Linked DNA regions of Homo sapiens: all the other regions are linked to region 5. Evidence: promoter capture Hi-C in 16 types of primary human blood cells and fetal thymus (Javierre and others, 2016). All regions are on one chromosome and are shown on one strand. The core of a region is centred on a gene start or on the middle of the fragment in contact, and the rest is flanking DNA. Distances in the headings are between cores, read along the strand shown.

Region 1 (3,946 bases), core at 78-2,577, 6.4 Mb after region 5:
AAACATGTAGTGATTCATAAGCACCAGTTTTTATTCTTGCCAATTTCATTTAATATTTTTGGTCACTAAAAATGTACAACCCTGAAATTGCCACACATACGAATTTCATTTGGGGACAGTTGAGATGTTATAAATTGTATAGAGTGGCATTCCACCTCAGACATATACACACACACGCAAAAAATGAAGATTATTATCATATATAGTACTGCACTGGAAATAAGGAGACTTGAATTCTTACCCCTGTTTCACCACAAACATTTGGGCACGTCTCAATCTCTTTGGGTGTCATGTATAATACAGAGGGATTGTACGAGGTGCTCTACATGGTTCTCAGTGATCTAGCCTTAAAATTCTGTGAGTATCAACAGTATTGGCTTTGGAATTTGAGGCACCATGGTTCAAAACCTAGTTCTTAAACTTACTGGCAGGATTACTTTGGACAGATTTTCTTATCTGTAATGGGGGTGATTACTATTCAACAGAGTTGTTGAATTAAATGAGATAATGTAGATCCAAGAGAGTTCTTGCCCTGGATCAGGTGCTTAATAAATGTTCATTTCCTTTCTCCTTAGGAAGTGTTAGATCTCATGAGTGGACTTATCTGAGATAACAGAAGGACACAGTTTATGTAATAAATCCTATTTTCCACTTTGCTGACTGTTAGCACTGCAGGTGTGATTAGGGACCAAAAAACACTGTGACATTTGGTTTCAGTCTCTCAGAACCCCATTCCACTGTCAAACACCCAGGTGTTAGTCAACCTGCTTGGGAAATAATTATGCCTGGAAGTTTCAACCAAGAGAGAATAGCAAGTGCCAAACTATTCACACATATATAATAATATGCAGGAGGGTACAGTCTAAACTGATGAACTTACACTGTCTCCAAAGATAAGTAAAATCAGACTTCATCATTCTAAAAAAAGGAAACAAAATTAAGGATGATTTATAAAAGAAAATCCAAAGATTTTGGTGAAGTCTCTGTTCACCAAACCTTAAAATTCAGGAGCCATTATTTAGTAATTTTCAGGTGATATAAGAAATATAGGAAAAATTGGTCTTCTGGTCAGGACTAATTCCAGAACATAGGCACAAATAATGTTTTCAATTTCAGATTAGCGGTTACAGATATCAGCAGACTGAAGTTATTGATACCTTTCTCTACTTGGGAACTGTGTTTTAAAATTTAATATTGTGTTATATATATCACCTTTATTTATTTGGTAATATTGAAAGTAAACTTACACAGAATGTAATACAGGTTGGACATCCCTAATCTGAAAATTTGAAATTTTATATGCTCCAAAATCTGAAACTTCTTGAGTGCCAACATACGGCCATAAGTGGAAAATTCTACACCTGGCATGTTTGCTTTCTGGTGGTCAAAGGTACACAAACTTTGTTTCATGCATATAATTATTTAAAATACTGTATTAAATTACCTTCAACCTGTGTGTATAAGGTGTATGTGAAACATAAATGAATTTTATGTTTAGACTTGGGTCCCTAGTATGTCTCATTATGTATATGCAAATATTCCAAAATCTGAAATCTGAAATCTCCAGTGTTTTGGATAAGGGATACTCAAAACATTGCTCTGCAGAAGTTTCTTGTTACCAGTCTTATTTTTGTATAAATCAAATTTGCTTGCCTGAGTTTTCCTTTAAGTTTATGTGAAAGTGAATTTTATAAGTAACTTATTCGAAAGAAATACTGTAATAAAAATTAAAAACTGTGGATGGGGGAAACTGAAGTGTTAGGATATAAAAGATAAATATGAGGCAATATATAGTTAAAGTCTGAGGATTCAGCTTCAAGGCTAGAGATTTCCATCATTCAAAAAGATTATTCAGCTATTGGATATACTAATATTTTATCACTGTATACCTTATTCACATTTAATTATTATGTGAATCAGTTGATCCTGGTTAAGGACTTTTTAGGTGTTCTTTCTTTCCCTCTCTACCTATACAGTTTAGGGAGTTTTAAGTTAAAATATTCCAATAAAAAGTTTGTAAGTTTGTAATAAAAGTGGTGGCTTAGAGCTATCTTTTTCTTCAAATAGTTCTTAAAGTGAAACTGTGTCTAATACGTATTAGAGAGCTCTGGTTTAGATGCCTAAAACGGGTCCTCCTGGCCAGCAGACCCAGTACCTGTCCCTGGCCTGTTAGGAACCGGGCTGCACAGCTGGAGGTGAGCAGTGGGGCCAGCATTACCACATGTGCTCTGCCTGTTGTCGGAGCAGCAGCGGCACTAGATTCTCATAGAAGGACCAACCCTATTGTGAACTGCACATGCAAGGGATCTAGGTTGCCTGCTCCTAATGAGAATCTAATGCCTGATGATCTGAGGTGGAACAGTTTCATCCCCAAACCATCGCCCCCACACTTCCCCAATCCATGGAAAAATTGTCTTCCACGAAACTGCTCCCTGGTGCCAAAAAAGTTGGGGACCACTGGCCTAAGGGACTAAATTCCCCTTCGGACTGCTACTTTGTATATGTATATGGTGGGGGACAGATTGTAACACATTTTTGTGTCTTTTTCTATATTGATACAATAGGAATTGTAATGTGTTGCTTGCTAAGTAACATAATGAGATAATTCAAATAATCACAAGTTGCATAAAACTAGGAAAAAATGTGCACATACTAATTATTATTTTAAATTTATATTTAACAGAAGCATAATATTTTATATTTGGCCTGACAATGTACTCATTTCTCAAGCATCACTTTGGTAGTTAGCTTGATAATTTAAATTGTACTCATTTATAAGAGGTTGTGTTTTAGCAACTTTTGTACATTATTGCGATTGTTACAAAGGGGTCTTTATGATGGCTAGCATTGCCATTTGAAATAAATTAGGGATTTTTAAAAATCTATAAGAATTCTTACAGACTATGCTTGTCAGGTACACTTCGGATTTTAAGTATTTGTATAGTAAAGCCAAGGAAATCAGTGTTGTGATGTGAAGAAAAAAACTGTATAGGGATAGAATCATTTTGCTCTAATCATAACTCTCCTAACTCACCAGGAGTTAGCAAGGCTTAGTGGACGAATATGTCTTATAAGTACAACAAAAATATAAGGCACTATTATGAAGAGGATTTTAGGCATATGTTTTTGAACAGGAGGAGACAATGTTGTGTTTATTGTATCCTCAGCACATACTGTAGTGTCCAAATGTAGGTGATCAGTAAGCACTGATCTTTGTGACATAGAATCATATTTAGAAATAAAAATACTTTCTTATATTTCTATCAGGAGCCATACGCTTTATCTGAAAAGCAGGTAAATTGCTGTGTGCCAGTCTTATTTGATCATTTATTGAGCACAGATTTGGCCCTTTGTATTCGTGGGTTTTGCCTCCATGGGTTCCACTTACCATGGATTGAAAATATTAGGAAAAAAAAGGATAGTTATTTCTGTACTATGCATATACAGATTTTTTTTGGTCATTATTCCCTAAACAAAACAGTAGAACAACTATTTACATAACATTTACATTGTATTAAGTATTAAAAGTAATCTAGAGATGATTTAAAATATACAGGAGTAGGTTATATGCATCTGCTACCCCATTTTATATAAGGGACTTGAACCTCTATGGATTCTGGTATCCACAGGGGTCCTAGACCCAATCTCCAATTTTCCATAGATACCAAGGGATAACTGTATATAAGAAACACTTTTGTATAAGTTATTAACTAGTTGCCTATTTCTATTGATATTTGGAGACATTTTGGCAAAGATTGTTAGGTTACAGAGAGGCTGTGTGCTGTGGTGAAAAAAAATTCGATCACGAATCAGAAAACACGGTTTTTCCATTCATCTATTAACTAGCTGTTTGGCCTAAGATCTTGGCCTTTCAGAGCTTGTTTCTTCACCTGCAAAATTTCTAATACAACTCCCAAATGCTGAGATTCCTAGTATGTTAAAGCCT
Region 2 (4,263 bases), core at 137-2,636, 6.6 Mb after region 5:
GGGAGAGTGTGCGTTTACTTTCACTACAAAATGTTTTGGAGTAAAACTTCATTTTGAAATATAAAGATTTTGTTGGACACAAGGCTATGTGGTAAGGCAAAATGGTAAGATGGTGGCATGACACCCCCTTGTGGTTTCCACCGATTCCCGGTTCTGTGCTAGATACTAACTATTCTAGGATTTAAAAATGTCTCTACATTTCTTCGAACTTTAATTCGGGCCATACTAGCATTCGTGAGCATTTATTTGAGCTGAGTACGCACATAAAACTTAGGAGGTCATAAAAACTGAGCCTCACAAACAAGTAGTGTCTCTTTCAAATATAGCTTTATCTCCTGGGGGATGGTGAAGGGATCAGAGTAAAGTCTGTGATTATTACTTTCCAGCGATTGATTGGTTGATTGGCATGTGGTTGTCAGAAAAAGCAGTGGACGTGAACAAAGAGACATCATTGCAGCCCTAACTATCCGAGTGACCTTGGGTACCTGATAATCCACATGGCTCTCAGTCATCCTCTTAACCGTTTGAACCTCAGGGGTTTAGGCTACCAAAATGAATTAAGACCCAGTCTTTAGCTTCTCACACATTTACTTTTCCATTTTGTAAAATGTGACTAAAAACCTCAACTCATTGTCAAAAGGACTGAATTAAACATATCACCACACTTGCACAGAGATCATTTATGGAACCATGTTCACAAATTTATTTATGCTCGTGTAATTTAATCATTTCTACAGCTGCTCAAAGAAAGTCAAAGTCGAGAAAGGACTTAAATCGTCGAGTCCAGTCCCCCTTAACTCCTCATTCATTCCACTATTTCTCGAGCCAAGGAATCGGGTGAAACTCAACAACGACTCGCAGTCTTCAGGTTTCACCCTCTTGCCCTGAGGGCAGCATCCTAGCCCTAGGTGGTTCTCTGGTGTGGCCTCAGTAAAACCGTGACGAGGTCCTCGGCCTCTCTGTCCCCAACAGGCGGCTGGCACACTTCGGGGTCTGAGATGCCATCTGCCTTGCCTAACCTGGGCAAGACCACTCGCGTCCTTTCCCTTGAGGAGCAGCGTGGGAAAGGTGCCGCTGCGCGCCACGTTTCTCCCAGTTCCCCAGGGCTTGAAGGGGCGGTGGAGGCGGGCGGGATAAATTCGCTGGCCGCCTGGCGTGGAGTAATCCTAGAGGGTGGGATCGCCCTCGGGGCTCGGGAGGGGCTCTTCCCCGCCCAGAAGGAGACTGCGGCGGCGCAAGGCCTCCGGCAGGGGGCGCGGGCCGCTGGGCCTCCCCCGGGGCTGCGGGCCGGTGGTCCCTCCCAGGCCGCGTGTGCGGTGCGTTCGCGCAGCCCGCTCCCTGCCCCCACCTCACCTCGTCACCTCCCCGCCCTCTCGGCGGGCCCCTGAGGTGCGCGGCGCAGGCGCGGAGCGTGGCGGCCAGGGCAGTGCGGCCGCGGAGCCTAGGCCAGGGGCCTGGCGCTCAGGGCGTGGGGCGCGCGGGGAGGGAGAGGGGTCGGCCCAGCACAGCGTCCGGGAGCGCTAGGGCCGGAGCAGCGCTGCCCGCCGCCGTGCGTCCGCGGGAAGGACCGCGCGGCCCCTCCGCCTGCGCTCTCGGCCGCCGCCGCCTCTGCGTGGGCCGGCCGGGAGGGCCTCGGGGGACTGACTGGTGAGTGTGAGGGAGGAGCGGGTGGGTCGGGCGCTGGACTGCTCCAGGGGACGCGGGCGTGCGGGCGCATCTTCTAACGGGAGAGGGCGGGAGAGACCGGAGCTCCCTTTATACGGAAACTCTGCCTTCGTTATATGGCGGGATGGCGTTCCCCTCCCCCATCCCGAAGGCAGTTCCACCCCCTGCGCAGGACGCCTTGGCCGGGCTCCCCTCGGCCCCCTGCTGCCGTTGTCTTTACGGAACCTTTGGTGTCGGGGCTTGGAAGTCTCCTTGGCGCCGGCTTCTGGGCCCGGGCGAAGCTGGTGCGTGGCGCCGGGGTGGAGGCGGCTAAGTCCCAGGGACTTCTGCCCTGCGCCTCCGACGGGCATTTGTCTGGCTGCGTCCGGGCTCGGGACGATCCTGGGTCCTCGCTGGCGCTGCGGCCCTGCCCGGCGGCTTCGTGACCTCCGGCGGCGAATCCCCGGGCTCGCGCAACGAGTTGTAGCCGCGGAGAGCAGGCGTCGATGCTGGCGCCCAAAGCCTCCAGCCTGAGAGTCGCCTCACTCGTGTGACGGTGCTTAGAAACCCCCTTTTTTGGTTTTGTCTTTAAGTACTGTCTAGGGAAACGAATCATTTGAAGCAGTTTATGCCTTTTTTGTTTTTTTCGAAGAGAAAGATTTATGCCGGACTGAAAAATAGCGAATCAAGTATTTAGTGACCGTGTGATATTGCAGTAAAGACTGCCTCCACGTTGGACATGTAGTGGATTCTAGTTCAGGCTCTCCTGCAACATGTTTTTGTTTCAATTCTTTTACAATTTAAAGCATATGCTTATTTTAATGAGAACGAAAAAGAAAGCTTAACTCTTTTTAAACTCGTTAAAAATGGAGTTATTTACTGTAAAGACGTCTTACAGCAATTAGGAAGAATATACATTGCATGAAAGGCCTTTTGAAACGTTTATCTATTTGATGATTGCTGACTGCCTGTTGTATGTATTCTATTTTGTGCATAGACTTTCTTGTTGGTTGAAAAAAATGACAGGTGGAAAGATGTTGGTTTCTAGGTGATATAAAAAATTTTTAAACATTTTTCTGATTTTTCTGCAGTGACACGTGTTACATATGTCGTTTGTATTTCAGAGGGAGGGGGGACTGTGATAGGTTGCTTGTGATTCAGAATCTTCCTGCTAAGAAGACTAGTGAGCAAATGTTTATGACATCCTTGAGTAGAAAGCTAAGTTTTTTCAAGGCTGTTATGCACACAAAAGGCACATAAAAATGATTGCTAAAATGAAGGATGGTTAGCATTTTTGGTCTTGAGTAGGCATCACCATTGTGCTGAAAGGAAGTCCGATAGACATTTGGTTATCGTTCGGCCCTAAGTAGGAGTCAGACCCTTCCTGATCCGTGTGCCTCCTCCTCTCACCTAACAGCCTGAATCCAGGCCAGCTTGCAACGTTGATTTTAATACCACGCTTGGTTTCCTTTTCTTACTTTTATTCTTCAAGTTGCAAAGAACTTGAGATGCATTCTGAAATAACAAGAGACTACTTAACATGTTCGGCTGAGTGTTTTCAGTGTTCTCCCTGATACTTTTAGAGTATTTAGAACATGAAGTGTGAAGCTTTGGGCTATATGAATCGTAATAGCTCTTCTCTTTTTGATTTTTGAATGCAGTGAATTGAGATGGTTACTCAAGGAATGATTGTTTACATTGTTAGGTGAGGCGTTTGATTTTATTCTTTTTTCTTTCTTTCTTTCTTTTTTAGACAGAGTTTCACTCCTGTTACCCAGGCTGGAGGACAATGATGTGATCTCGGGTCACCACAACCTCCGCCTCCCGGATTCAAGCGATTCTCATGCCTCAGCCTCCCGAGTAGCTCAGATTACAGGCATGTGCCACCACGCCCGGCTAATTTTGTATTTTCAGTCGAGACGGGGTTTCCCCATGTTGGTCAGGCTAGTCTTGAATTCCCGACCTCAGGTGATCTGTTCGCCTCGGCCTCCCAAAGTGCTGGGATTACAGGCGTGAACCACTGCACCCGGCGAGGTGAGGTATTTTATATATTGGTATCATTTCTGTACATTTCATGGTTGTCTGTTTCTTTAGGCTATTCTGTTCCCCTTCTCCCAACTGGTAGCTAAGAACTGGAAGCAAGATGTGCATGCATTTTCATCTCTGGTTCTCCCACTTATTAGTTGACTTAACTTTCACTAAGGCTGTTTCCACATCAGTAAAAATGTAAATGGGTTTGATAGTAACTCCTCCATGTACCGCACAGGACCATTTTGAAGATGAAATAGAATAAGGGTTAGGAAAATGCTTAATAAACTGAAAAGGCCGGGCGCGGTGGCTCACGCCTGTAATCCCAGCACCTTGGGAGGCCGAGGCGGGCAGATCACGAGGTCAGGAGATCGAGAACATCCTGGCTAACACGGTGAAACCCCGTCTGTACTAAAAATACAAAAAATTAGCCGGGCGCCTGTTGTCCCAGCTACTTGGGAGGCTGAGGCAGGAGAATGGCATGAACCCGGGAGGCGGAGCTTGCAGTGAGCCAAGATAGCGCCACTGCACTCCAGCCTGGGCGAAAGAGCGAGACTCTGTCCGAAAAAAAAGTAAAAATAAAATAAACTG
Region 3 (3,959 bases), core at 300-2,799, 6.9 Mb after region 5:
ATAGAAAACTTGCCCTCACTTAAGATGGCCACATCCTGCCTTTGTCCTCATTGGTAAATTGGCTCTCTCAGCTTCCGTGACCCGCCTCCCTTCTTCCTCCTGCCCGTAGTAGCCATGGCGGCCATGAGTTTGTTGCGGCGGGTTTCGGTTACTGCGGTGGCAGCTCTGTCTGGCCGGCCCCTTGGCACTCGCCTCGGATTTGGGGGCTTCCTCACTCGTGGCTTTCCGAAGGCTGCTGGTGGGTGCTGGCCTAGGGAGAACGGGCGTGAAGCGGGTGCGGGGCGAGAAAAGGGAGGACGCTTCCAGGGTGACCTTGGTGGGATCCGGAGGGAGCCGGGACAAGTTGTGGGCTTGGGGCTTGACAGGAGAGACGGAGCACGAGCTATATGAGGGGTTTTCCTGAAGTAGCCAGATAGATCGTGTTTACATTATTAGCATTTCTAAAACGTTGTTATTCACCATCCCAATTAATGCTAATTTGCGGATGAAGCTGAGTCTAGAAAGGTATAGAGCTGAGATCTGTATCTCTAGGGCACAAGCTTATTGTTGCGTTCCACCTGCCCAAAGGCTAGGTTCTAGTCCCACAGATGCAAAGTCATCTTGCCGAGAAGCCCACCTATGCTAAGGAATATGAAGACAGGTAATATGTAGACAGGTAAAGAGGCTCAGGGCCAACTTATTCTTTAGGCACAGTAAGTACCGTGCCGCCCAATAATGAGATGCAGATGAACTGGGGAGGAAGAGAGGTTTTTGTTTTGTTTTGTTTTGTTTGTTTGTTTTTTGAGACAGAGTCTCACTCTGTTGCCCAGGCTGGAGTGCAGTGGCGCGATCTTGGCTCACTGCAACCTCCGCCTCCTGGGTTCAAGCGATTCTCCTGCCTGAACCCATGATAGTTTTAGGGGTCTACGAAAGTCTTTTAATTTAAATTTCTTTTTTAAAAAAACCATAATGTTTATGAATATGATAACGAATCCAGCCTGTATTATGTTCGTTTTATACCAATGCAGTCATAAAATATTATTTTTAATAACTTAGACGAAGGGGCCCTTGAAGGCAAAAGTGCCTAGGTCTCAGGAAAGTCATAATACAGTCTTTTTTTTTTTTTCTTTTGAGACAGTCTCACTCTGTCACCCAGGCTGGAGTGCAGTGGCACCATCTTGGCTCACTGCAATCTCCACCCCCCGGGTTCAAGCGATTCTCCCGCCTCAGCCTCCCCAGTAGCTGAGGCTACAGGTGCACACCACCACGCCTGGCTAATTTTTGTATATTTAGTAGAGATGGGGTTTCACCATGTTGGCCAGGCTGGTCTCGAACTCCTCACCTCAAATGATCCGCCCACCTCAGCCTCCCAAAGTGCTGGGATTATAGGCGTAAGCCACTGCACCTGACCAATACAGTCTTAATAGGGCTATTTGGACCTCCTTGGAGACAGTGAGTTGCATCATGGCGGTGTGAATAATCATAGCAAAGATCAAATGCTTGATATTCAGTGTACTTTATTATCTCAGAGACTCTGCAAAGAAATTACAATGTTATTTTCATTTTACAGATGAGGAAACTGACTCAATTATTAAATAATGTGTCACTAAATAATAGCCAACATTTACTGAGCACCTGTTACGTGTCAAGCATCCTTTTTTATTTTTATTTTTTTCAAGACGGAGTCTTGCTCTGTTGCCCAGGCTGGAGTGCAATGGCGTGATCTTGGGTCACTGCAACCTCTGCCTCCTGCGTTCAGGCGATTCTCCTGCCTCAGCCTCTTGAGTAGCTGGGATTACAGTTGCACGCCTCCATGCCCGGCTAATTTTATGTGTTTTTAGTAGAGATGGGGTTTCATCATGTTGGCTAGGCTGGTCTCGAACTCCTGACCTCGTGATCCACCTGCCTTGGCCTCCCAGAGTGCTGAGATCACAGGCGTGAGCCACCCCACCTGACCTCAAGCATCATTTTAAGGGTTTAAAGTATTAATTTATTTAATCCTCTTCATTAGATATATACTGTAAGCTATTTGCCCTGTGCAATAGAAGCAGGTAAAGAGGAAGTGAAACACTTAAAGTCAGAAAGTTGTCTCCAGCCTCAAAATATCTTGTTCTCTTTTTACCCCTATTCTCCCAGTTTAATTTGAATTATGCCACTCCACAGGATGAGGCAATATACATAGGGATTTGCTGGAAACATGATGCAAAGAACCAGTGGTATTTAACAAATTTCCAGCAGGAATTTGAACTTGTTACAAAACTACATTCCTTGATGAAAATCCCTTTATAAGCCATTTCTGATTACAGATATTCTCATATAGCCAAATACAAATCCTTCAAATACTCGCTCTGGTAGTATTCAATCAAATCCAGCTGGAGATAAACTGCAGCAAAATTTCACCCCCAGTTTCTCTTTCCACATTATTGCCCTTTCTTGGGGTTCTCAAAGGATCATTACCGTGTTCTGCGCCCTTTCCAATCAGAGCAGGGAAGGTTCTAATAGCTATGTTTACTAAAGGTTACTGTGTTTTCAGCTGTGTACCTGCTTTCAAAGGTATTTTGCATCTGTCACTGTGATATGAAAGCTTTTAATCTCTTACATGGTTGTTTATATCTGTCCCTACAAGAATGTAAGCTCTAATGTAGTAGAGAGCCTGTCTTGTTTTGTTTTTTCTGGAGATAGACTGCCTATCTTCAAATTCTGGCTCTAGAATTCAGAAGCCATGTCTGTGATCATCACATCTTGGAAGCTAAAGTGGAAGACACCTAATTGCTCATAACCTGCATTTCCTCCTCTTTAAAAAAGATGAGAATTTTAACCTGCCTCAAAAGGTAGTTGTGAAGAGTGAGTGGAAAAAATCAACAGTGCCTGGCAGCAGTAGCCTTTAAAAAAATTGTGGTAAAGTACACATAACATTTACTATTTTAACCATTTTTAAGTGCACCGTTCAGTGGTATTAAATACATTCCTAATGCTATGCAACCATCACCATCATCCAACTCCAGAACTTTTTTCATATGGTAAAACTAAAACTCTGTATCCGTTAAACAATAACTCTCCATTCCCCTTCCACGTAGCCCCTGGTAACCACCATTCTGCTGTCTTTATGATTTTGACTACTCTATTTCTCATGTAAGTAGAATCATATAATATTTGTCTGTCACTTAGCATAATATCCCCAAGGCATATTTATGTCGTAGCATATGTCAGAATTTCCTTCCTTTTTAAAGCTGAATTGTCCGTTGTCCATTGTATGTATTTACCCCATTTTGCTTATCCATCATCTGTCAATTGGGTTGCATCTAGGTTTTGTTTGTTTGTTTGTTTGTTTTGTTTTTGAGACAGAGTCTTGCTCTGTCTTCCAGGCTAGAGTGCAGTGGCACCATCTTGACTCACTGCAACCCCTGGCTTCCCGTGTTCTCATATCAAACTGAAGGTCAGGCTGCTATTTCTTGCCATCCAATAATGAGATGCAGATGAACTGGGGAGGAAGAGAGTTTTTTTTTTGTTTTGTTTTGTTTTTTTTTGAAACAGAGTCTCACTCTGTTGCCCAGGCTGGAGTGCAGTGGCGCGATCTTGGCTCACACAGCCATCTCTGCCTCCTGGGTTCAGGCGATTCTCCTGCCTCAGCCTCCTGAGTAGCTGGGATTACAGGTGCACACCTCCATGCCCGGCTAATTTTTTGTATTTTTAGTAGAGATGGGTTTTCACCATGTTGGCCAGGCTGGTCTTGAACTCCCGGCCTCAGGTGATCCGCCCGCCTTGGCCTCCCAAAGTGCTGGGATTATAGACATGAGCCACCGCGCCCTGCCAGAAGAGAGTTTTTATTCCTGTAACTGGTTACAGGGAGAAGTCCTGGAAATTATCGCCAGACCAACTTAAAATTACAGTTTTCCAGAGCTTGTAGACCTTTTAAGCTATATGTCTACATGTAAGTGTGCACTTATCTAAAGACAAAAGTGACTAACTTTTTAAAATCT
Region 4 (3,876 bases), core at 760-3,259, 6.6 Mb after region 5:
AGAGGTTGCAGTGAACCGAAGTCGCCCACTGCACTCCAGCCTGGGTGACAGAGTGAGACTCCATTTCAAAAAAAAAAAAAGATTATGCACCTCTCAACTATACAATGGAAAGGGAGGGATTCTGTAAATTTTTCCAGCGACAGTGGGGAAACCTTTGGTAGATTGGGAATCAAACTTTTTTTTTCATGTCTCTCCCAACCCTCTCTTACCATATTTTGAGCTCCTTTAGGGCAGGAGCCTGGGATTCATTGTATTCCTAGCACCAGACTTGACACAATTCAATGCTGAATGAGAAAAAAAAAATAGTAGTATAGAATCTTTGTTTCCAATTAGGAAATAATTTGAGCTGGCACAGTTGACTTTTTAAAAATATTTTTTTTTCTAAAAATAATAGGAAGTGAAAATGAAGTTAAATGTGTATTGTACGTGTTATAGATCATGCATCATGCTAGGCACTAGTGAAATGACAGCTTTAGAATCTGAATTCAGTTGTACAGGTTTTAGAACCTCAGTAAAAATGTTGCAAAAAGGAGACAAAGCAAATAAATCAAGAAAAACATACAAGAGCAAAAATAAAATGAAAAGCAAAAATAAATGTAATGATACTTAAACCAGTCTGTCCGTTATTCACCAAATTGCACATATTTTATTAATGCGTTAGAAAAGTATGGTGAGATATGAGAAGCTTAATTGGATGTGCACTGGAGAAGTTTTAAGTGGCAGTGTTTGTCTCTAATTAGGGTCATTCAGATAGCCAGATGAATCTTTTTGTTTTTGTTTTTGTTTTTTTGAGACGATGTCTCACTCTGTCACCCAGGTTGGAGTGCAGTGGCACCATCTCGGCTCACTGCAAACTCTGCCTCCGGATTCAAGTGATTTCCAGCTAATTTTTGTACTTTTAGTAGAGATGGTGTTTTACCATATTGTTCAGGCTGGTCATGAACTCCTGACCTCAAGGGATCTGCCCACTTCGGCCTCCCAAAGTGCTAGGATTATAGGCGTGAGCCCCCACGCCCACATGAATCTTCATGTCTTTACCTTCAAAAAGAGGTGATAAGAATGTAAACATCAGGTTATCTCCTATTCCTGAGTTATAAAAAAAACTGAAAGATTTTTCTATTTTTCAAACCCAGGCTTTTTCAACTACCTCCAGCCATGGAGGAGAGGTGAGGGCTGGGATGTGCGGTTAAACCCTAAACCTGATAAGAGTGAAAGTGGGATACAATCTGATGAGATCGAGTGCATTCAGGGTGGTATGGCTGTAGATAGGATACAACCTGTAATTCTCTTTCTTCTCTGTCTTTGTGTTAAGTGAGCTGTTTCACCTCATCCCTGGGGGAAGCAGATAGAACGTGGTAAAGTAGCAAGGTCTTTCCTAGCTTGGAGACCTTGCACTGTATCTTAATTTCTGAGGGGCTCCTATTCAAACCTCACTTTTTTCTCTCAGTATGTGGCTCCCCCTTCTGAGCTCAAGATCTGAAGATCCATTCAGTCAGGTTGGAACAATAATAGGTCAGTGTTAGGTTCTAGTTTCTCTCTTTAGAAATGTATTCTTGTCTCAAGGGTAGCTTGTATGTTTGAGACCTAGAAGTCCACTTTTGACTGTGCCCTTGCAACTTTTAATATTCTTGAAATTCTTTTGGGCGGGATTCTTGTGACCCATTGCCACGGAGTATGCACCTTTTACCAAACATTGAGATGCTGTGGGTGGCATGTTAACATAAAGCAAAAATACATACAATCTTAGGTATTCCATTATATAACTAACTTAATATTCATTTATATCACTTTTCTAATGCCATTTCAATTTTGCAGCAACATATAAGAATCCGGAACTTGATCGAATAGCCACTGAAGATGATCTGGTAGAAATGCAAGGATATAAAGACAAGCTTTCCATCATTGGTGAGGTGCTATCTCGGAGACACATGAAGGTGGCATTTTTTGGCAGGTAATTATTTATTATTACTTCTAAGATTAGTTTCCAGGAATCAGCTTTGTGTCTGATGTTTCAACAAGTAATATTTCTCCCATCCTCCCCCAGCCCCGCAAGTTTCTGCCTGTGTTGAATGTTAAAGCTGTTAGCATGTGAAAGAATTTGTGCATTTTACCTCCTGGTATAAAATGAAGCTTTATGAAAGTCAATCATATTTTTACCTTTTAATGATTCTCATCTCTAAGAATTGGCTTGTAGACAGTTTTAAGAATGGAAATATAGATAAATGATAAGCATACTTTGTGTTTTACTCTTTTAAGTTTACTTGATTATGTGAAAGTTTCAGAAGCTAGGATGAAATCACTTTTGTCATACCTAGACAGGCCTAGAAGGAAAGAGGCTCTTGTCTGAGATAACTATTTCCAAGGACTTTCTAGAAATTCTTTCAAATCTCCTGCTTTGATAAGACTTATCAATAAACATACTTTAGGACTGCCTTAATTCAGATAAAATGTTTTCAGGAGAGTTCTTGCCCAGTAATGGCATCTCCGCCAATGAACTGACAATAACTGGCGTTGAACCTCTGGAACCAAATAACTCTTGTTTCTAGGCAGCTTATGTAAATCTCTTTTTGCTAATAGAAACCCCTCTTACCCTCACTGAATGCACTGGTATGCCATTCCATGCATTCCAGATTATAATCTTTATTTTTGATTCCCAAGTAAACTCAGCATTTTTTTTTTCCCCCTGAGAGGGAGTCTCACTCTGTCTCCCACGCTGGAGTGCAGTGGCACAATCTCGGCTCGCTGCAACCTCCACATCCCGGGTTCAAGCGATTCTCCTGCCTCAGCCTCCCTAGTAGCTGGAATTATAGGCGTGTGCCACCATACCTGGCTAATTTTTGTATTTTTAGTAGAGGTGGGGTTTCACCATATTGGCCAGGCTAGTCTTGAACTCCTGACCTCAGGTGATCCACCCGCCTTGGCCTCCCAAAGTGTTGGAATTACAGGCGTGAGCCACCGCATCCAGCCTAAATTTTTTTTTTTTTTTTTGAGACAGAGTCTCAGTCCGTTGCCAGGTTGGAGTGCAGTGGCACCATCTCGGCTCACTGCAACCTCCGCCTCCCGGGTTCAAGCAATTCTCCTGCCTCAGCCTCCCTAGTAGCTGGGACTACAGGCGTGTGCTGCCACACCTGGCTAATTTTTTTTTTTTTTTTTTGTATTTTAGTAGAGATGGGGTTTCACCATGTTGCCCAGGCTGGTCTCGAACTACTGAGCCCAGGCAATCCGCCCACCTCGACCTCCCAAAGTGCTGGGATTACAGGCGTGAGCCACCGCGCCTGGCCCCAGCATAATTTTTATATTTTTATTAGAGATAGGGTTTCACCATGTTGGCCAGGCTGGTCTCAAACTCCTGACCTCAAGTGAACCACTCACCTCGGCCTCCCAAAGTGCTGGGATTACAGGCGTGAGCCACTGTACCTGGCTAATTTAGAGGTGATTTTCTTTAGTGTCTTTCTTAAGTTTGACAATTATCTGGATTATGGCGGGGAGAAAAAGGCAGTGATCAGGTACGTCTTCCAAAATTTTCAACTCCATCATTCCTAGAGGGAGAGTAGGAGGCGTACATTGGTGTAACAGTCCAGAGTGATAGGGTGATCTCTGCCACAGCTTATATGCAAAGACAAATGACTAGCTCCATAACTGGTTATTCAGCTATCTGTGCTGTGTACCAACAGAGGCATTTATTTACTAAATAACTTCATAGGCCTTCTAAGCTATTTTCCCATCGTAGGGCTTTTGCCCTTGCAATTCCCTTTGCCTACAACTCACCTTTCCTTGTTGTAGCTACGTCTAGTGCCTTCTCATTCTTCATATTTCATCCTAAATGTTACTACCTTGGACACCTTCTCTGACCACCCTATCTAAATTATTCCTTCT
Region 5 (4,193 bases), core at 1,159-3,658:
TATAGCACTTGAAACAGCTTCTGACTCAGTAAGACTAAGTTACTTGTATCATTGTTTTGTAGGTATTTGAATTCTGTGAAAACCTATGCATGCAATAAATTTTTCACCGCAAATACAGCTATCTGCTAGAAGTGCCATGAGAACAAGGCCCATATTTGTCTTGTCACACCTATATTCTCAGTGCTAGCATAGTACCTAATGGGTGCTTAATAGTTATTAAATGAATAAACTATGATTAGGTTAATCAGGACATCCAGTCTCTCAAACATTATGAATGAACTTGGATCTAGCTCATTCACTCTCGAAATATTTATTTGGTACCTACATGTGAAGATTCCTGTGTTTATTAGAGAGCAATGTGTAACATTTGCCTTTGCAGTACTAGCTTTTTGAAAATACCTGAAGATGAGGGATCATGTTTTACTTTACCAGACACCAGCCCTCTGCTAGGTGCAATTAAGTGGCATATGATCACCTATGCACACGATTATCTGAAATACTCCTCTCCACATTGCTTTCTTTGAGCCTGCAGACAGATCTATACTAGACTTTATTTACACTCATCTATTATTTCTGGGTTCTAATGCGGGCTAAAATATTTATTAGGAGACACTGGGTAAGTTACTTAAACCTTTCCTACAGTTTCATGGTATCATGGGACTATGATACCTACTTGTGGGTTGTTTTAAGGATTAAATAAGGTATAAAGTGCATAGTAAAGTATCAGTATGTTCATTCTCTTTCTTCTCTCCCTTATACTGTAATTATCTGTTTATCTGCTAATTTCCCTCACCAGATTGTGTGGTCCAGACAGGCAGTTTTCTATGCCTTATTCATCTTTATAACCCCAACAAGCACAATGGCTGTCTTAAAATTAGTAAATATTTGCTGAGTAAATGAAGACCTAAGAGAGTGAAAAAGGTTGTATTACCCGTTTATTTGTTAATCTAACTGCCACACATCCCTTAAAAGAAATCAAGTACAGCTTTTGTTAGGGAAGCTTAAAATTCATGGCAATGATACCATACACAGTTAATCATTAGCTTTGGAAAGTCTGTTGAGCAGAAAGCGGTGCACAAAGGAAGTAGGGCTGCTTCCCACAATAGCTTAATATGTTTTCAGTGATGAACGTTTTTGGAATGCTGGGCACACCCGACTTCCAAATACGCAAGCACATTCCAAATGGAAATTTCAATTACTGTTTTTCTTTTTTTCTGCCGTAACAGTTATCACAGCATTTTAATGAAGGTCAGACTTAAATACTGACAAGCAGGGAAACCAATAATTACCAGATTGCTTCATTCATTTTGTGGACAGCATTATAAACTTTTCAGGCATTCTAAGATTGCCTGACAAAATTAGAAAAAATTGTTAAGTCCCCACAACCTGCTTGAGATGCTCACAAGTGTTCCATCCCAAAGTACACGTTTGCCTCTTCTTATTGGTATTTAGGTTCTGGCATCTGATTCCCCTTTCTTCTTCTATTTATATTAGCCTTCAGGTGGGAACTATGGAAAACCCACCTGGTGGGGGTGTATTTTTCTTAAGAGATTGTGTTATATGGTATCATATTTAGAAAATAAAGAAATTATTTTCATAATAGCAACGCTAATCACAGGAAAAACTTGATACATTCTTGACTAGACTTTAGGGGAAAGTACAAGTTCTTAGTGGGCGGAGGGGGGCAAAGACGAAGCAATTTGGCTCCAAAAATTCTAGAATCTCGTGGCATATTTTTATCAAATTCAAGCTTATCTTTAAAAAAATCCGAGAATTTTTCTAATTTCTAAGAATTGATTCTAACCCGCGATACTCCCTAGATGGGAGCGCAGTGCTTTAAATAATAGCATTTAAATAAGCGGCTGCTGATTTGAAGTCCACCTGGGGAGTCCGAGTTCTAGGACCGGTCCTTGGCCCTGCCACACGCCAATACAACCATCAAAGTCAAAATCCCTTAACTCAAATTTAAATACATTCCTAAAGCAGAAAGCATCCCGATAGGAAAATCCTACAGCTCACAGCAAGCAGCAGGGAAACATTTATCTCTGGCGGCACTGATTTAAGCTTAAAAGATTTGGTATCGTTTAAAAAAAAAAAAAAGCTGGGTGGGGCCGAGGAGAATCCACCCAAACTTTCCTCAGGAAGTAGGATGTTTACTGAGTAAATATGCGGTAGTCACAGAAACACCTGCTACTCCTTTAAGACCTCAGGAGCCACCACCGCCACCTCCTGGCCACATCCGGGCACTTCTCTGCAAACTCCTGGCGTCCCGACGCCCGAGTCGTTGGGCTTATTTGAAACACACGCACAACCAATCAAGCGGCGCCTGCCGGGACTTGGAGAGCGTCGACCAATCACCGCCCCTCTGGAGACTCCTGCCTATGGGAAAGAGGTTGACATCACGCGCCAATCGGCATGGCTCTTAGAGAGAGCAGCTTAGTTTTTGAATCGGTTGTGGCGGCCGCCGGCGAGGAATGGCGGTATTTGTGAGAGGAGTCGGCGTTTGAAGAGGTGGAACTCCTAGGGCTTTTTTGAGAGTGGTAAGGACTCTGTGTGAGTGAGAGAGGTGCAAGTGGGCGAGCGGCTCCAGAGCCAAGGGCTCTTTTGCCTGCGGTCGACGTCCCCGCCCCTAGTGACCGCGAATTCCGGAGCGCCCCAGCTCAGGCTTCCCGGATCCGGGAACTCCCTCGCCGCACCCCACCCCCAGCAGCCGGGCCCTGACGCGGAGTGGGAGACCGAAGCCCCCAGTATTGCTGGGCATCTTCGCCCTCACCTGTTGGCTCTTTTGGACAGAAGAGTGTGGGTGAAGGGAGGGAGTTGGGAAAGGGATTTTGGCAAGCCGCGCAGCCCTGTGGCTTTGGGGGCCGGCACTTGCAGCCTTTGGGGGCTTATCTCAGAGTGCGCCGTGGTTTTATTCTAGGATTCATCCTGGCTTCTTTGCGGGAAGTTTAATTTTTCGTTTTTGCAAGATAAATCCAGGCCATCCGCCCCTCGTCCTCCCCAGCCACCCGGCACAGATGTGTCCGGCTTAGTGGTTAAAGGCGCAGCCTCTGGATTTAGCCGGGCTTTGAATACCTCTTTTACCCCTTACTAACAGTTTGACTTAGGGGAAGTTGCTTAACCTCTCTGTTCCTACGTTTCTTCATCCATACATTGAAAATAATAATAGTACCTGCCTCTTAGGATTACTGCAGAGATTAAAAGGTTTAGGACAATGTCTGCCACGTATTAAGCGTTAAGTAAATGTCAGTTGTTAATAGTAATGTTATTGTTAATAACACCACCATTATATCTTGGATTGCATTTTAGTCCTTCACCTTGGAAGATGATTGCCTAAAAAGTATTTAAGTAAAAGGAAACTTGAATGTTTGTTTACATGGCAAATTTTATCTCTGGGATAAAAGGGGGCATGTGTTATAGTGTGTTTAGTTAGAAGCTCCTTGGGTCTGTTCTTGGGTGAGAAGCTGTGTAGGTTTATGAACACTGATCCTATTGTGCTTATTTTAAAGGCTTCTGGAATACAGTAATTTGAAAAAAAGTGATTAATATATTTCCATTTCTAATCTGACTGTTGGATGTTAGTTATGTCATCAAGTTACCGTAGTGCATCTCTTTTTCTCTATACATTTTGAAGCTGTTTTGGCAATAAATTGATCATATACAGTATCATCAGGGGCAATTTTAATTATTAATCATCTGCTTTCGATCATCTGCTATGCTCCCTCCCTTTTATTAATCATCTGCTTTTGATCATTTGCTGTGCTCCCTCTTAAAGAGGGAGGCATAGGAGAAAAATGTAAATATTTTCAAGAAGTTTTTTTTTTTTTTTTAGACGGAGTCTACCTCTTGTTACCTAGACTGGAGTGCAGTGGCACGATCTCGGCTCACTGCAACCTCTGCCTCCCGGGTTCAAGCGATTCTCCTGCCTCAGCCTCCTGAGTAGCTGGGATTACAGGTGCCTGCCACCAAGCCCAGCTAATTTTTGTATTTTTAGTAGAGACGGGGTTTCATTGTGTTGGCCAGGCTGGTCTCGAACTCCTGACCTCGTGATCCGCCCGCCTTGGCCTCCCAAAGTGCTAGGATTACAAGTGTGAGCCACCGCGTCCGGCCTTTCAAATGGTATTTTTGATTTTCCTCTTCCAGTCCTTAAAGCAGGTTAGCTCATCTCCTGACTTTTTTTTTTTTTTAAACAT
Region 6 (3,968 bases), core at 850-3,349, 5.0 Mb before region 5:
CAACAGAGTGCAGAATGTCTCTCTTGAATGGAAATTGCTCTGGGGATGATTGTTCTTTAGCCAAAAACCTTGGTTAATTTCAAATTACCATATCCTTTGGTCTTTTCTTTAGAGTTCTGATTCTAAGCCTTTTGAGTAAAAATAAGTTAGCATGGATTTCTTTTTAACAGGAAGATTCACTGATGCATGCAGCACAAAAGAGCAAGACTTAAAGGTTCAAGATCAAATGGTTTTGGTAAAGAAGGATACAGGGGAATAGATATAAAGAAAACTACTTGAGAAACACACCTTTAGCAAAAGAGAAAAAAGATTTTATATTTTTTGTTAAATTCCTATAATCCATGATTCCATGACCTTTTCTCCCCCAGTCATTAATTTGTAGAGGCCTGTATTCATACTGGGATACATTACTTTTCTAAGTAAAATTGAATATTCAAAATCCAATGAATACCAGTCTGATTCCAGTTAAAATGGCAATTTTTACTGGAATAAATTTTGGATGATTAACCTTCCTTTTTTATGCTTTTATAACCCATAAATATTCAAAATCTAATGAATACCAGTCTGATTCCAGTCAATTGCCATTTTAACTGGAATCAAACTGGTATTCATTAGATTTTGAATATTCATGGATTATTAACCATAAAAATCCTACCTGTATACACTAACTTCTAAGTGAAACATTATTTGGACAAAATATCAAAAAGTAAATACCTAAACTGATGTTTTGCCCCTTTAAAATAATAAAGGTACTTGAACCAGACACTAAGATGAGCAAGAGCCCATTTATTTAATTAAGCAAATTCCAAAGGTTAAACACTGCTTTTGGGATCAGAATTAACGTACACAAATAAGGGAGAGATTTTTTTGTTGTTTCTTTTTTTTTTTTTTTTTTAAATCTTAAACCTGTAAGAATTTAGTCTTTAAAATTTGGAAGGTGTGTTTTAAGTAACTACGTTATTAACTCTTAGAGACCATGTACTTCTTTTCTATCTCCTGTTAGTCCTGAGCACTTTATGTCATATTCAGCATAAAGAAATTGAGTAACCAGTTACTGAATTAGAACCATTGGACATTGGACAATACTTCTGTAATGCACACATTGAGACAGTTTGCGCTTTGATAGACAGAGTCAGCTGACCTCACAGAATGATTGCTTACACATTAGTCCTTCTGAGAATGTCTTTATGCTAGTTTGCCTTTGCAAAAGTGTTGATTGAGCACAATTGGATTCACACTGTGTGCGCTGCAAATACATTACAGATTTGAGTGCCAGCATTTCTAAATTCATCTCAGAGATAGGATATATAGGCGAGGGTAAAGGAGTCTGCAACTGGTGGCACTTAAGGTCTTAATTTCACAGACAGAAAAACCCAGGGCTCAACCACCATTTAACCTCAAGGCCCTGGAGTTATACCTTTGTTGAAGCTTATCTGTAGAAACCATATTTCATTCTATAAAAACTGAATTTGCTCTTCTGTTTTTCTAATTATTTCTTCCAAAAAAAAAATAGACTGATTTTGTTTAAGCATGTGTGGAGTTGGTCATTAGTTGTTTTTTGCATTTGACCTAGAAACAAATTAATCTGATTGGTGTTAGAATTAAGAATCTAATGTAATTTTTACTTCATTATGATAAGACCTATACAATTCTAGTTAATTGTATATAGTTTTTTAGTAGTAAAATTAATTGTAGCACATATTTAACTATCTTCTGTTTACTTTTACCTTCATGTTGATTTATATAAATTGGCTTGCTTAGAACTGATAATTAACCTGCCTTTTTCTTTTTTTTTTTGCCGCCTTTTTTTTTTTCTGAGACAGGGTCTGACTCTGTCGCCCAGGCTGGAATGCAGTGACCTGATCATAGTTCACTGTAACCTTGAACTCCTGGGCTCAAGCACTCCTCACACCGCAGACTCCCCAGTAGCTAAGACTACAGGCAAGAACCACCATGCTCAGCTAATTTTAACTTTTTATAGAGATAAGGGTCTCACTGTGTTGCCCAGGTTGGTCCAAACTCCTGACCTCAAACAATTCTCTCACCTTGGTCTCCCAAAGAATTGGGATTACAGGTGTGAACCACCATGCCTTGCTGATATTATTCTTAATGATTAGCACTGTGCCTTGTGTAGAGTAAACTTAGTTCATACTATCTTTCTCACCAGATACTTAGTATCTTTAGAGCTAACTCTGAGTTTCATTGACGTTTGTATTCATTTTGAGAATCCTTTTACATAGTTCATACTTGGTAAGTAGTAACAATTTGGATAACTATTTGGTAATCTATAATGAAACATCATTTTGCAAACAAATACAACTAGAAAAATGACTTTTTCTTAGACATCTGTGTTAGTACCAAATTCAGCCCTCTGCCAACAACGGTTGCTTATATTACAGCTAAATATAAATATTGCTATCTTGTTGGATTTCTAAATGAGTAGAACAAATTTTGTTATTAACTGCAAACTTGCGCGCGCGCTTGTGTGCGTGTGTGTGTGCGTGCATGGGCGCATGCTTCAGACATGAATTTATTCATTAGATGCTATTTGGGGTTTATGTGGTCCTTTTCTCTCCTTGCCTCTAGAACTCTGCTGATTTAAAGATGTGCTTTTATGTAATACCTCCCCTCCCCTACACGATTTCCATTACTTTTTTCTTAACAAATAGAGAAAAATAAATAGATGAATGTAATATGAGGCCTTAACTAAAGTTTAACTGGCTGTAAATGTTCCATTTTCAGTGAAAAGGCTGCATTGAGAGACCTTAGTAAAGCTTACATTGTACCTGAATTATACAGGTATTTGTCATCTCTGAGCCATCATGAAGAACGAATGAGTTTTGAGACTTGGCATTGACAGTGCTCAGTGTTGGTCTTCTGTGTATAGCTTGGTGGTGGAAGCTTACAGGGTACCTTCAGTTTCAGCCACTGCTTTGAGGCCCCCTTCTGGTTCTGCCTGGGAAAGGAGACTTCTGAGCTCCTCACAGCTCTTAATGTGGGAAGGAAAACAGATGAAATGTTTTTCATTTAATAACCTTATTTTGTTAAACTGTATTGTTTTTCCCAGGTATATCTCACACCAGGATTCCCAGTAAGAGTAGCTCAAATGTCACACAGTGATTTCTATAGCACAGCCAGGCAATTCAATGAGTACCTATCAACTTGTAGTCCACTCCTAGCATCTTGGCTTTTCTTGAACAGACCCCAAAGAGCCCACTAAAACATTTCTGATATTTTACCCACATTGGATTGCTTCTGTCATTTTCTTGATAACCTAGATTTTGTTGCTTTGAGGTCTTTTAACCAGCTCTAACTTGAAGAGCTAGCTAATTTTATTGTTTTTATACCCGTTAGTAGTATGCTAGAGATACCATATTGTGGTGTATAATTTTTGCCTTTACTTGAATTAAATCAGTTATTGGAGCATTTAATTGTTGTGTACTTCACGAAGCAATTTAGAATCATTGAAGCAATTAGTGTTTTTGAGATATATTCAACCTTCCAGTTAAGAAACCTGTACCTAGTCTCCTAAATTGCTTACAGATGTTAAATCCCTTATTCAATGTCTGTGGCAGGTTAAATAGTATCTTATATCTTATGTCCTTTGACATACAATACCAGATGAAATTATATAATACCAGTAATGTCATAGAATAATTTTTGGCTTTGGTAAATTACGAAACTTTTAAAAAAATTATATTATGAGATTTTGTGCACAAGGTATATTAACTAAATCTAAGGCAACAAAGTTTGTTTTTGTATTTCAGAGTTTCTGATATGTTCTTTTAAAAATGCAAATAACTAGTTATCTAGATAAGAAGAAAAAGCCTTAAAATTTAAAAAATAAATAAGGAAAAAAATTTAAAATGCCAATAACTTTAAAGGTGTAAATAATAGCTATTTGTTAATATAATAGCAGATTTAATTAATAATTAGTAATATAAAATTGAACATTTTGAAAAGGAGAG
Region 7 (3,725 bases), core at 833-3,332, 7.9 Mb after region 5:
CATGAGATTTTAGTTTTTTAACTGAACCAGCAAACATATTTTACTGTGTTTGGACACGGAAATTACTTTTAACTAAATCCTTATTTAAATTTTTACTTTAGGTTGTTCAACTACTAGCTGTTTCATACCAAACAACTAAGATAAAAGAAGACACTGTTCTTATCAAAGCTTGAAATGTCTGGTGTTTTAAAATACTTCTCATTACAGGCTCTTTGTCCCTTAAGAGATGTGCCTTCTCACAGTAACCATGGGGATCCTTTATCATATTACCAAACTGGTGACATCATTCGAGGTGATTAGTTTCATCATACTAATAAAAAAGTAATGATTGTTGAATTTTTGTTTTTATTAATTTAAAAAAATACAGTCTAAGAGGGTAGTGTTTGGGAAAGTTTATATTTTTTATGTTAGTTTACATTTTCTTACTAATCAGCTTAGTTCTCTTTTTTTTTTTCTTAAGCTGGAATCAAGGATATTGACAGATACCATGAAAAGCTAGCAGTATCTCTGTATAGCTCTTCTCTTCCACCACACCTATCTGGTATTAAATTAGGTGTAATTAGCTCTGAAGAGCTTCCTTTATACTACAGGTAATTTATCCGTATTATTTCAACAACAGTTCATTACAAAAGTCTCTTGGATTGAGGAATACCACATTTTTATAACGGTTAAATTACTTCAGACTTGGTAAAAGGAAACCATATCATAATATTGCCACACCATCTTATGCAAAAAATGGAATTAGTATTTAAACCTCAAATGATATTATTTCTTTACTAGAAATGGAATGTCAAATTAGTCATTTTACAATTTTTGTGTTTGTATTTTTTTAAGGAGAAGTGTTGAGCTAAATAGCAATTCTTTGGAGTCCTATGAAAATGTCATGCAGAGTTCCTTGGGATTTGTTAATCCAGGAGTAGTTGAATTCCTTCTAGAAAAACTAGGAATAGATGAATCTAATCCACCATCTTTAATGAGAGGCCTACAAAGGTATAGTACATCAGTATTACTCTTAGATGGTGAGGGGAGTGGCAGTAAGCTCAGAAGCTGCGTTTAGCTGAAGGACGTATTTTACCATCCTAAGCCACCTAGTAGCAGGCATATGCCAAAGGTTGAATGAACCAGGTGATCCCATCTTCTGGACTGGACTGTCTTATCAGTGATTAATATGTGTACCATGTAACCAAGTAGAGAAGGATGCAGAAACTTTTTATAAGAATTTTGTGTGTATGCTAAAGAAAAATACTGGGTTTTTTTGTTTTTTGTTTTTGTTTTTTGAGTCGGAGTCTCACTGTGTCACCCAGGCTGGAGTGCAGTGGCGCTATCTCAGCTCACTGCAAGCTCTGCCCCTGGGTTCACGCCATTCTCCTGCCTCAGCCTCCCAAGTAGCTGGGACTACAGGTGCCCGCCACCACGCCTGGCTAATTTTTTTTTCTTTGATTTTTAGTAGAGTTGGGGTTTCACCGTGTTAGCCAGGATGGTCTCAATCTCCTGACCTCGTGATCCACCCGCCTCGACCTCCCAAAGTGTTGGGATTACAGGCGTGAGCCACCGCACCTGGCCAAGAAAAATACTGTTTAACAATAATAATCATTTCGAAAGTTCAAAGATTTTGGTATGTAAATAGAATGCAGATTTCTTGCTTGGGATTCATACTTTCACTGTCGAGTGCCTGTCAAGCAGAGTTAAGTATAGTTACTTAAAAAATATTTGTGGTTTAACTTTTTAATTTTTATTTTCTTTAATAGCAAAAATTTCTCTGAAGATGATTTTGCTTCTGCATTGAGAAAAAAACAATCCGCATCTTGGGCTTTAAAATGGTATGAAGACTGTCTTTCAACAATTGCATTATATCTAGTCTAAAAGCTTAGGGCAAGGCAAGCATGCTTATATCATCAATAAGACAAATTTGAGATGCATTAAAGTGATGCCTTTTTGACATGAGCTTTTCTTTTATAGATGTAAGTAGTCTTACATTTTACACTTAACAGATAAGTTTTACTCAGCATTTCAGTTTTCTCAAAAGGAATTAGTATATTGATATCTAGGTTTCACCAATATTTGTTGTGAAAATGTCCAAAGGCAGAAGAACGTTCCTTAGGTATATTGTGAGTACTCTGAAAACTAAATATTTTGCCAAGTTTGATGACATTTGCTTTTAAAACTTATTCACACTAACATTTTATTTAGATATTGTTTGAAGTGTTTGTGATGCTTTACAAATGTCTTTTTTAGTGTGAAGATCGGAGTTGACTATTTTAAAGTTGGACGCCATGTGGATGCTATGAATGAATACAATAAAGCTTTGGAAATAGACAAACAAAACGTGGAAGCTTTGGTAGCTCGTGGAGCATTGTAAGTGAATCATACATGGATTTTAAGGAATGTTTACCAGGTAAATGCGAACAAGATTTATGAAGAGCTTGTGAGATACAGCCCTCTATCTTTGTTTCATGTCTCTAGATATGCGACAAAAGGAAGTTTGAACAAAGCAATAGAAGATTTTGAGCTTGCATTAGAAAACTGTCCAACTCACAGAAATGCAAGAAAATACCTCTGCCAGACACTTGTAGAGAGAGGAGGACAGTAAGTATCAGATTTTGTTTAATAGTGGAGGTCTAATGTTCAACCAACCACTAAAAAATTTTGAACTTAAGGAAATAGTTTCTTAAGCACTTAATTTATAACACTCTTGGTTTCAATAAATAAATGGGAAAGTACAAGAGATTAGGCAAATACTCTTTTCCTAGATAATATACTCAAAAGTTTTTGGTTTAATGACTATACTATTTGTGTAGTCATTCCTGTTTGTGATCACAAATTCCAAGTTGATTAAATTTTGCAATATTCGTTTATAATTTATAGGAACTTCTATTTAATGATTGGAGCAGCTTTTTACATACTTACTAGGTGGATAACTAGTAACTACTTATATGTGGTTGTCTTATAGCCTTGTATTGATGTCTTTGAGCTGAGTGAATAGCAATACCCTGTAGTTACCTAAGCCAGAGATACTGTTCATCTTTGACTTGTCCTTTGTTTCCCATATCCAGTCTACTGACACAAAAGTGATCCCATTGTATTTGTTTTATAGTAATTTCTTTTTCCTTCTAAGAACCCAAAGCACTTTGCAACATCTTTTGACTGCTTTATGTCCAAACTTTCTCATTCTGGTGTTTCACAACCCAGACTTGTGAAATTCATCTAATGATTATGCTATTTACAGGCTCATTGTGATATATGTGTATGTTGGTATTTCCAAAGATTTCCAAAATTTTCTGTAGATAATTTTTCATAAACTACTAGGGAAAAAAGCCTGCTGGTATAATTCTGTGCTAAAATTCAAGATCATACTAAATTTGTGGACACCCATTTATCATGGGTTTTTGTGTATTACTGCAAAAATGTGCCAATATTGGACATATACCTTTAGTTACTAGTAAGATTTCTGTTTATGTGGTCTATGAAATAAATTACAGTAAAAAGCATATTATTTTGGTATTTTATTTTGGAAAATAATTTACTTGGCTTTTCCCTAATAAGCTCTCTCATATAAGCCTTTGACCTGTATGCATATTTGGATAGTTTTGTTGTTTTTACAAAAAAGCTAAATCTTTCTTTCAAATTTAGGTTAGAAGAAGAAGAAAAGTTTTTAAATGCTGAAAGTTACTATAAGAAAGCTTTGGCTTTGGATGAGACTTTTAAAGATGCAGAGGATGCTTTGC

Evidence for each region. Contacts are between HindIII fragments. The CHiCAGO score rates a contact against its expected background, and 5 or more counts as called.
Region 1: a contact is called between a fragment that was not itself captured here and the fragment with the promoter of ECT2 in region 5, in 1 of 17 cell types (fetal thymus). The highest score is 8.1, in fetal thymus.
Region 2: the fragment with the promoter of ZNF639 here is called in contact with the fragment with the promoter of ECT2 in region 5 in 6 of 17 cell types (fetal thymus, total CD4 T cells, non-activated CD4 T cells and 3 more); the score reaches 12.7 in fetal thymus.
Region 3: a contact is called between a fragment that was not itself captured here and the fragment with the promoter of ECT2 in region 5, in 3 of 17 cell types (total CD8 T cells, naive CD4 T cells and fetal thymus). The highest score is 10.4, in total CD8 T cells.
Region 4: a fragment that was not itself captured here is called in contact with the fragment with the promoter of ECT2 in region 5 in 1 of 17 cell types (fetal thymus); the score reaches 5.5 in fetal thymus.
Region 6: a fragment that was not itself captured here is called in contact with the fragment with the promoter of ECT2 in region 5 in 1 of 17 cell types (non-activated CD4 T cells); the score reaches 6.9 in non-activated CD4 T cells.
Region 7: a fragment that was not itself captured here is called in contact with the fragment with the promoter of ECT2 in region 5 in 1 of 17 cell types (fetal thymus); the score reaches 6.3 in fetal thymus.

Annotation. Positions count from the first base shown.
Region 1 is chr3:179,152,084-179,156,029 of GRCh38, forward strand. All of the region lies in intron 1 of PIK3CA (phosphatidylinositol-4,5-bisphosphate 3-kinase catalytic subunit alpha), which reads left to right. Among named protein-coding and RNA genes, the nearest start is that of PIK3CA, 5.7 kb to the left of the region's middle. The HindIII fragment of the contact is 7,610 bases long and covers 1-3,946 here.
Region 2 is chr3:179,321,645-179,325,907 of GRCh38, forward strand. ZNF639 (zinc finger protein 639) reads left to right here and starts at 1,387. Exons shown (of 6, transcript NM_001303426.2): 1 at 1,387-1,647. RefSeq lists silencers at 1,117-1,556, 1,587-1,726 and enhancers at 2,297-2,346, 3,388-3,487. The HindIII fragment of the contact is 4,241 bases long and covers 1-2,482 here.
Region 3 is chr3:179,604,702-179,608,660 of GRCh38, forward strand. NDUFB5 (NADH:ubiquinone oxidoreductase subunit B5) reads left to right here and starts at 93. Exons shown (of 6, transcript NM_002492.4): 1 at 93-238. The coding sequence starts at 115. RefSeq lists enhancers at 1-93, 19-218, 94-960, 399-558, 589-678. The HindIII fragment of the contact is 2,024 bases long and covers 538-2,561 here.
Region 4 is chr3:179,350,085-179,353,960 of GRCh38, forward strand. It overlaps MFN1 (mitofusin 1), which reads left to right. Exons shown (of 18, transcript NM_033540.3): 3 at 1,816-1,951. Among named protein-coding and RNA genes, the nearest start is that of MFN1, 4.3 kb to the left of the region's middle. The HindIII fragment of the contact is 238 bases long and covers 1,891-2,128 here.
Region 5 is chr3:172,748,318-172,752,510 of GRCh38, forward strand. ECT2 (epithelial cell transforming 2) reads left to right here and starts at 2,409. Exons shown (of 25, transcript NM_001258315.2): 1 at 2,409-2,540. RefSeq lists enhancers at 1,945-2,214, 2,315-2,364, 2,385-2,644 and a silencer at 2,755-2,824. The HindIII fragment of the contact is 5,304 bases long and covers 2,063-4,193 here.
Region 6 is chr3:167,738,235-167,742,202 of GRCh38, forward strand. The region is part of intron 1 of SERPINI1 (serpin family I member 1); the gene reads left to right. Among named protein-coding and RNA genes, the nearest start is that of SERPINI1, 4.5 kb to the left of the region's middle. The HindIII fragment of the contact is 1,346 bases long and covers 1,427-2,772 here.
Region 7 is chr3:180,604,018-180,607,742 of GRCh38, forward strand. It overlaps TTC14 (tetratricopeptide repeat domain 14), which reads left to right. Exons shown (of 12, transcript NM_133462.4): 4 at 208-292; 5 at 461-590; 6 at 835-990; 7 at 1,749-1,820; 8 at 2,236-2,355; 9 at 2,464-2,586; 10 at 3,631-3,725. Among named protein-coding and RNA genes, the nearest start is that of TTC14, 3.7 kb to the left of the region's middle. RefSeq lists a silencer at 1,474-1,729. The HindIII fragment of the contact is 437 bases long and covers 1,865-2,301 here.